Linked DNA regions of Homo sapiens: region 1 is linked to region 2. Evidence: promoter capture Hi-C in 16 types of primary human blood cells and fetal thymus (Javierre and others, 2016). All regions are on one chromosome and are shown on one strand. The core of a region is centred on a gene start or on the middle of the fragment in contact, and the rest is flanking DNA. Distances in the headings are between cores, read along the strand shown.

What was found. The method cuts DNA at HindIII sites, captures the fragments that hold promoters and counts their contacts. A CHiCAGO score of 5 or more calls a contact.
Region 1: a contact is called between a fragment that was not itself captured here and the fragment with the promoter of PLK1 in region 2, in 5 of 17 cell types (M1 macrophages, megakaryocytes, total CD8 T cells and 2 more). The highest score is 7.0, in M1 macrophages.

What each region holds. Positions count from the first base shown.
Region 1 is chr16:24,032,597-24,037,125 of GRCh38, forward strand. It overlaps PRKCB (protein kinase C beta), which reads left to right. Exons shown (of 17, transcript NM_002738.7): 5 at 2,823-2,951. Among named protein-coding and RNA genes, the nearest start is that of MIR1273H, 170 kb to the right of the region's middle. The HindIII fragment of the contact is 181 bases long and covers 3,160-3,340 here.
Region 2 is chr16:23,677,244-23,681,821 of GRCh38, forward strand. It overlaps PLK1 (polo like kinase 1), which reads left to right and starts at 1,646. Exons shown (of 10, transcript NM_005030.6): 1 at 1,646-2,097; 2 at 2,841-3,009; 3 at 3,671-3,815. The coding sequence starts at 1,690. DCTN5 (dynactin subunit 5) reads left to right here. Exons shown (of 6, transcript NM_032486.4): 6 at 1-229. The HindIII fragment of the contact is 1,938 bases long and covers 1,312-3,249 here.

The sequences.
Region 1 (4,529 bases), core at 2,000-4,499, 360 kb after region 2:
TGGAGGATGGCTGGCTGTCATCTGGGTGATGGTGATGACCAGGCCACGTGTCTTTCCTCCTCAGTGGGCTAGGCTACCTAGCCTCCGTGCATGCACGGAGGTCACAGGGTCCTGAGTTTCTTAGGAGGGCAAGTCCCATTGGCAGCCACACTTCAAGTCTCTACTTGTGTCTTTTGCTCCTGATCCACTGGTCAAAGCAAGTGGCATGTGAGATGCACAGTCACAGTGTGGGAAGGGGCAGTCCATGGCTGTTGACACCCAGAGGCATGAACAAATCATGGGCATTTCTGCAGCCATGCACCACCACTGTTTTCAGCATTGAGATGTGGGGCTGATGCATTCTTTGCATGGAGAAGACCTGTGGCCCTGCAGCACCCACAGGTTTGTGCTGGAGGAGGAAAGAGCATCATTCTCTGGCCAGGATGTGGTAGGAAAGGCAGGTGGGGTAGGACTCCTCTTTATGAGGCCAAGGCCCGGATGGCCTGTGGGGCAGGGGAGCAGACAGGCTTTGAGAGCTATGGCCACAAAGCTACAGGGACACTGGAGGTGCTGGTGGCTCCCACAGACCTGTTGGTCTGCAGCAGGCTGGGTGTCATGAGGCTAGTGGTACTGCTCTCCCAAGGGTCCTGAGGCCCAGAGGACAGAGGGAGAAAGTCATAGGGCAGAGAGTGACAGAGAGGACTGTGAGGGTGAATAAGGGTGGTAGGGAGCAAGACAGACAGCAAGAAACACACATGCATAGACAGACACAGATGCAGGGGAAAGATGGACACATGCAACCCTAACACAGGGAGGAATGTGGGGCGTGGAAGCTACAGAGAGACTCAGCTAGAGAGAGACTCAGGCAAAAGGAGGGACAGGCAGACACACAGACCAACAGATAAGCCAGGTGCAGTGGTTCACTCCTGTAATCCCAACACTTTGGGAGGCTGAGGCGGGTGGATCACCTAAGGTCAGGAGTTTGAGACCAGCTTGGCCAACGTGGCAAAACCCAATCTCTACTAAAAATACAAAAATTAGCCAGTCAAGGTGGTGGGTACTTGTAATCCCAGCTACTTGGGAGGCTGAGGCAGGAAAATCACTTGAACCCAGGAAGCAGAGGTTGCAGTGAGCTGAGATCACACTACTGCACTCCAGCCTGGGTGACAGAGTGAGACTCTCAAAGAAGAAGAAGAAGAAAAGATAAAATGATTGGCATGGACACAGAGAGAGACGCCATTACACAGGCTCATGCAGAGGTATAGAGATGGAAAGACCAGAGACAGAGACAGAAGCACACATGGAGAGCCACAGAGAGACACGGAGGAGAGAGGCAGAGAGACACAGTTGGAGAAAGGGAGAGACAAAGAGGCCAGAGACAAGTGCAGAGAGTGGAACAGACCGATTCACAGACACGGCCAAGGCAGTGAGCCACGTGCAGAAGTGGGACAGCAGAGACAAGAGACATGCAGCAACGTGGAAACAGAGAGACAGACACAGAAACATGGCAAGAGCCACAGGGGGACAGTGAGGTTGGAGCCTTCTGCCTGCAGGACACCAGCTCCTCTTACCACACATGGGGCCCTAATATAGGGACAATGTCCCTGCCTCAGAGACAGTGGTGGGTGGGAGCTCAGGCTGGTGCTCAGGTCCCAGAGGGCTCTCCCTTCCCTCCCCACAACTCATTTCTAGTTTTTGTAATAGGCCTGCTGCCTCCTGGGACTTGGGTGGTCTGAGAAGGGTCCCTTGCCCCCAGATCCCTTGAAATAGGGGCCCATGGGGTGACTTGGCCTCTCCTTCTGGCTTCTCCAACTGGAACTAGCGTCCCCCTGGAGAATCCTGGGTGCCTGGCACACCTTCCTGGAGTGGGGCATTATTGCTCAAGACCTAGAAGAAATCACCCACCACATTGAAATAGACACAGATACTCTACGGAGGAGTGCGCAGAGGGAGTGGATATCCTATAACATGAGAGATGGCCGAAGGCCAAATTCAGTGTATAGGCACATTTTATCCACCCTGCCCTGGCTCTAAATCTTTTTCCTTGTAATTAATTATGGTGGACACTATGGCCAGCCCAGACCCCCTCTTCATGGTCCCACCCCATCCCCTAGCTGTGGTTCACAGCAGTGCCCCATCCTGCATAATTGCCCAAGATAATGCCTCTTCCAGGGAGACCAGATGATTGTGGTGCCCAGCCCTCTTGTCTCAGTTTGGAACAACTCTGAAGGGTCATCTCAGCTCTGGGCTCCCCCTAACATCAGCTTTGATTGCATCCACGTGGCAAACGAACTTCTCCCCACAAGAGCACTCCCCAAAAACCTTGTGCTCAAAACTCCCCGTCTCAGACTCTTTCCAGGGAGCCCAACCTATTAGCTGTTAATATTTAAAAATCAGAGCTGTCACGTACACATCGAGATTCCTGCATACGTTGAGAAATGGGGAATGTTTTTGCTCTGTTTCCCACTTGGCTTGGCCAAGTCCCTGCCACCCCCTTAGCTTTCCTCACTCATGTGACCAGCCAGCCTGTGAGCATTGAAGTTGGTGACTCTGGCTTCAGAGCCTTAAGGGGTGTGGGGTGTGCTTGCTTCAGACTGCACCCTTGGCTGTGGGTGGGGAACAGACAAGTTCTACCTCCTTTGCCCATCAGGGTTCAGGGGGAAGAGTTGGAAAAGCCCTTCTGATGAGATCCTGGCAGGCAAGTTGGTCTCAGCCAGGCTCGTGTGTCTCAGCTGTCTCAAAGGAGGGAAACAGGAAGGGCTCAGCGGTCTTGGGTGGGGCAGATGTCTGCAGCCCCCAGCCTGGGCCAGCCTAAGCCACATCCCCTCTCTCTGCCCTCACAGCCTGCATGATGAATGTGCACAAGCGCTGCGTGATGAATGTTCCCAGCCTGTGTGGCACGGACCACACGGAGCGCCGCGGCCGCATCTACATCCAGGCCCACATCGACAGGGACGTCCTCATTGTCCTCGGTAGGTGGCCCTGGGGCTCCACTGGCTCCTGACCTTGCTTGACCTGTGTGATTGAGAAGGGGAGGGTGGCGGAGGGGTGGGGCAGTCCAGTGGAGGGGTGGGGCAGTCCAGGGACGGGGAGGGGGTGTGGCACTGCTTCTGCCCCATGCCCTGCCCATGACAGCCCCTCCCTGCAGCAGGGGGATCTTTAGAAACTGTACACCCTCAAAGCTTCGTCCATCAGCACCCCAGGCTGACTTGGGTTCAGAGAGGAGACGTCTGAGTTCCTTGGACTTCTAACTTCCTCAGGATCCTCCACTTCCCTTCTCTCCTTCTCATTTCCCACTCTTTTTTAGTAATCTTTTGGGATGGGTAGTTGCATTTCCTTTACTCAGATAGCAGAGAAGGGAAGCTTGCTTCTTCCGCAAACTTTTCCAGCAGGAAAAATGGAGTCTTGATGATAAACCCCAGATTTGGAGAATATAATATCTTGGGAAGGAGGAGGGTTGGAGGGTGCAATTCAGGGGCTTTCCACATATTTGAAATATTTCTTTCTTGAACCTGATGGTGGCTATGCTGTAATTTTATTATTCTCTATATTTTCTGCATGTCTAAAATATTTCATGATAATTAGAAAGCAGGATGGTACAGTCTCCTGGGAGATGCAGTGAGAGGAGGAGCTGCTGGTGGTGGTGGTGGTGGTGGTGGTGGGGCTGTCACTCATGTATCCCAGCATTCAAGACATACCTGGCTCTGATATGGGAAGTTCAAGCAAAATTGGAACTCAGCAGCACTGGCTTGAGGAATACTCAGCCATAAGCCCCGGTATAACCAGCACTGAGCTGGCTGGGAGTGGAGCTAAAACTTTGCAGGAATTTCTTCTCAAAGGCTAGTGACAAACTACTGTGGACTTTATATATCTAATGAATATAAATAAGGGTTTATGAGTTGGTAACTCAGGAAATTGATCATGGAAGAGATTAATTTTGCAAAAATTAGTGTTTCTGAGGCCTCAGACTGGTTCAGTAGCTCTGATGCATTGAGCCCTGGGTTGCGGAGGGGCTTTACGTAGATTGTGTAAAAGCTGAAAAATACTTATCCCTGTACAATATAATTCTTTTAAACTTGAGATTTCGTGAAGCCCAGTGAGATTTTAGAAAATGTGCAATCCATTGCATTATGTTTTCCTCCAAGTGGTCGCCTGCCTCCCAGTGTGATGCTTGGGGGCCCCAGGGGAAATCCCGCAGTTTCAGGTTCAAGGGAAGCCAGTTTTCCCCACTGATTGAGGTTCCCGATGCTGGTGAGACAAATATGAGACTCTGCTTCCCTCTGGTGTCATTCTGTGGGAAATACACTCGTTCCAAAGCATGACTGCGGGCAGCCAACATTTATGGGCCGCATGGGATGTGCAGTGCTCTAAACCTTACGTGTTATCTCTTTCCACCTTCACAACATTGTGAAATCTCTATTATTCTTGTTTGAGAGGGAGACTCCATCTGTTGCCCAGGCTGGAGTGTGGTGGCGCCATCTTAGCTCACTGGAACCTCCACCTCCCGGGTTCAAGCGATTCTCCTGCCTCAGCCTCCTGAGTAGCTGGGA
Region 2 (4,578 bases), core at 396-2,895:
TACATCATCAGACTAGGAGGTGGTGGTGTTGGCACCCCCCAGCACAGGGCACAAGGGAGACTTGCAGGGTGTTTGTCATGTTCCCTTTCTCAATCTGGGTGTGGTTTACAGATTTGTTCAGTTTGTGAAAATTCACTGAGCTCTATGAACAATTATAATATGTACATTTTTTTCTGTAAGTGTATTAAATTTCAATAAAAAGAATTCACACTATAGGGGTACAAAATAACTTAATTTTTCAAAGTCTTCCTTTTATTCAGCCAACATTTTAGTAAGTACCCTTTTTTTTTTACCAAGCACTGCTCTGGGAGCTTGGGACATGGGGTAGAAAGGACGGCATCATTGTCCTCATTGTCCTTCAGCTTAGCTGCAAGGCAGGTGAAGGATGCTTATAGTATGGTTGATTTTTGCTGGGCTCTATGAAGGATCAGAGGGTGCTAAGGAGGCACAGAGAAAGAGCTTTTAACGTGGGTATTTTACTGTTCCAGGGTTGCCACTCAAGTACCTACAGAACAAACGGGTGTAGCTGTAAACTGTGGCAAACTGAAAGCATGTAGGCACAGAGTAAGTAGCTAGAGCTGATTTTTTTCAGGAAAGGCCACAAATCCCAACTTTTATGAGCTCCTCTTTTAAATGCTGTAAATGTTTTACAATGGCGGGGCGCGGTGGCTCACGCCTGTAATCCCAGCATTTGGGAGGCCGAGGGGCAGATCACTTGAGGTCAGGAGTTCAAGACCAGCCTGGCCAACATGGTGAAACCTCTTCTCTACTAAAATTACAAAAATTAGCCGGGCATGGTGGTGCATGCTTGTAATTCCAGCTGCTAGGGAGGCCGAGGCGGGAGGATTGCTTGAACCCGGGAAGCAGAGGTTGCAGTGAGCTGAGATCGTGCCACTGCACTCCAGCCTGGGCGACAGAGCAAGATTCCGTCACACACACAAAAAAAAGGCGTGGGGGGAGGCCAAACAAAACCCCGCAAGACACATTTGGCTATGACCTGCCAGTTTGCTAGGCATTCTTCCAACCTTCCCTCCCTCTGACCAAGAAACTGAGTGTCCACTATTTTAGGCCCTGGGAAATTCAGTAGCGAGGAGGCCAGACAGCTTCGTTGCATCATGGGGGGCTCTGGTACTGTGCTTCTCCAACTTCAGGATGTGTAGGAATCACCTGAGCAGTCTTGTTGAGAGGCGGACACTGACTCGGGAGGTCTGGGGTAGGGCCTGAACGTTTGCCTTTGCGGTTCTAACAAGCTCTCAGGTGATGGCGATGCTACTGTTCCCTGGCCCCGAGGTAGAGGAAGATTTAAGTAAAAGCTTCCTGGAGGAGGCGCAAGTGAACCGCAGGAGCTTTCCCGGACGCCCGAGAAAGGGAGAAACCCCGAAGGAATTCCTCCTCTCTCGGGGCTGGGTCTCCGCATCCACGCCGGGTTTGGTTTCCCAGGCTATCCCACGTGTTCGGGCGTCCGTGTCAATCAGGTTTTCCCCGGCTGGGTCCGGGTTTAAAGGCTGCTGCTGCGCAGGGCGCTCCCATGGTGCCGCGCGGCGGGCGGGTTTGGATTTTAAATCCCCGCGGCCAATCAGTGGCGCGCAGGCTTTTGTAACGTTCCCAGCGCCGCGTTTGAATTCGGGGAGGAGCGGAGCGGTGCGGAGGCTCTGCTCGGATCGAGGTCTGCAGCGCAGCTTCGGGAGCATGAGTGCTGCAGTGACTGCAGGGAAGCTGGCACGGGCACCGGCCGACCCTGGGAAAGCCGGGGTCCCCGGAGTTGCAGCTCCCGGAGCTCCGGCGGCGGCTCCACCGGCGAAAGAGATCCCGGAGGTCCTAGTGGACCCACGCAGCCGGCGGCGCTATGTGCGGGGCCGCTTTTTGGGCAAGGGCGGCTTTGCCAAGTGCTTCGAGATCTCGGACGCGGACACCAAGGAGGTGTTCGCGGGCAAGATTGTGCCTAAGTCTCTGCTGCTCAAGCCGCACCAGAGGGAGAAGATGTCCATGGAAATATCCATTCACCGCAGCCTCGCCCACCAGCACGTCGTAGGATTCCACGGCTTTTTCGAGGACAACGACTTCGTGTTCGTGGTGTTGGAGCTCTGCCGCCGGAGGGTGAGTGTCGCTGCTGGGGAACTGGAACTGCCTGCGGGGCAGTTGGAGCGCCCAGACCTGGAGCTGCTGGAAAGAGTACCCAGCAAGGGAGAGCCTGGGACTTGGAGCTGCTAGAGAAGGGTGCTGGGAGCCTCCCGCTTACGTATGGAAAGTGTCTTTGGTAAGGGCTTCTTGGCTCTGGGAGCTGCTAGAGGAGGGGGTTCCAGTGAAGTGGAGTCTGAGTCATGTTGCTGATAGGGAAGTCAGCTTCTGGACGCGAGGTGCTGGGGGGAGGGGTGCTGGTAATGGACGCTAGGGCCCTGGAGTACCCAGGGAGGAGTCCCAGGTTAGTGATGCCGCGCCCTGGGAGCTTCTGGGGTGGAGCTGGGTCAGTGGGGGGGTAGTTGGAGCCAGACTTCGGGCCTTCCGGGGGAGATACGAGTCAGGAAAGGGATCTGGTGCTGGGGACTCGGAGCTTCCGGAGTGGGGCTGAGAGAGGACCCCCAGGTAAGGGGGGAAGCTAGTAGGAGAAGGGGTGCTGCGAATGGTTGTGGACAGTGTTAAGGCAGGGTCCAGATGCCGCTGTGCTGGAGAAGGAATGGGGTGGGGGCATAGGGAAGGAGAGAAACCCACCAAGACCCCTCTTTCATCCCTTGGGAGTCCAGAGTCCAGTCCTGTGCTTCCTTTGCCTGGTAACCCTCTCCCTTCCCCACCGGCCTCAATCCACCTCCCCATCCCTCCTGCCCTCTCCTTCCCACCCACAGTCTCTCCTGGAGCTGCACAAGAGGAGGAAAGCCCTGACTGAGCCTGAGGCCCGATACTACCTACGGCAAATTGTGCTTGGCTGCCAGTACCTGCACCGAAACCGAGTTATTCATCGAGACCTCAAGCTGGGCAACCTTTTCCTGAATGAAGATCTGGAGGTGAAAATAGGTGAGTTGCTGAGCCTGCAGGGGTGCTTGACATCACTACAAGAGGCTGGAATTTGGAGGAGGCTGGGAGAAAGGAAGGAGACAACCCACAAGTCAGTATCTTGCCTACAGATGCATTATTTTTTTGTGCCCCAATGCAATATTTTTTTTTTACAAAGAATTTGAATTTGTTTTTATTTTTTAAATTGGAAGGTTTGATTGAACAAAAAGTTTGATTCAGAACTCCTTTTAAACAGGTGAAAGCTTCAGTAATACGAGGACAGCATTTTCTTAGGGCAGCCCTTTGCTGGGCTGGAAAACAGCTGTCCCCTTCAGACTTCTTTGCCACAGTCTCTACTCCTCCCTATTCTTCACAGACTTGCCAAGTCTTGGAGGTTAACTTGCTTGATCCTTGAAGGCATTGGAGTTTTACTATCCCTGTCAGTTCCTGTTTCAAAGCATAGCCCCTTTCTAAAAGGAGGGGTGAGAAGTGTCACTGGAGGCACCTCCCTGGTGTCAGCATGGGAGGAAGATTCCTGGGCAAGCCTTGCTACATACAAGGAGCAGAGGCTTGTGGGATCAGATGGCCCTGGTTCTGGATGGTCAAACCTTAACTAGCCTTCTGCATTGACAGATGTCAGAGGCTGGCATCTAAGTACCAACTCTTCCTCCCTCTGTCCCAGGGGATTTTGGACTGGCAACCAAAGTCGAATATGACGGGGAGAGGAAGAAGACCCTGTGTGGGACTCCTAATTACATAGCTCCCGAGGTGCTGAGCAAGAAAGGGCACAGTTTCGAGGTGGATGTGTGGTCCATTGGGTGTATCATGTAAGTTGGGAGTTGTCTCTGGACCAACCTGGTCTCAGCAGGGGCAACTTTGGGACATCCTACCTGGCTGACCTTTTCTGTGGACCTTTCGGCCTGCTTTACAGAAAGCCTACTCCAAGGGACAAGTCATCCCCAAACAAAGCCTAATTGTCATATCTTTCCCTGTCACTGGTGTATCCTGTCGGATTTCTGCAGCCTAGGTCATGGGTACAGCGGAGGAGGAGGAGGGAGAGTCTCCACAACCTTACTGTAGTCCTTTGCTAGAGTTGTCCACAGGGCAGCATCACCATCATCTGGGAACTTGTATACACAATCTCAGGACCCAGACTACTTACTGGATCAGAATCTGGATTTTTAACAAGGTCCCTTGGTGATTCCCTTGCACAATAAGGTCTTAAACACCGATGAGCATTAGCATGGTGGGGGAAATTAGGCCAGGAGTTACAGATGGAAAGATGATGTGCCAGTGGTCTGTCTGGATTAAGACCATCAGCAGCGGTTGGTGGCAGGCAGAGGCTTGGGCCTTTTCAGGTGTTATCTTTCTTGTTTTGGGCCTAGGTACTGGAGAGTTAGAAATGAGTTGTAGCAATGGCTTTCATACGTCTTTGCAGTGGGGTTTTTTCAAATGAAAACTTGAAGACTTAAGTACAGAACTGCTAAAGGTGGAGCTGCTTCTGTAAGCGCAGGTAGCCCTTTGACCTGTTTTGCATGACAGGCAGCATCTGAGGCCCTTGCACAGAGTCCTAGATGACCACAGGCTATA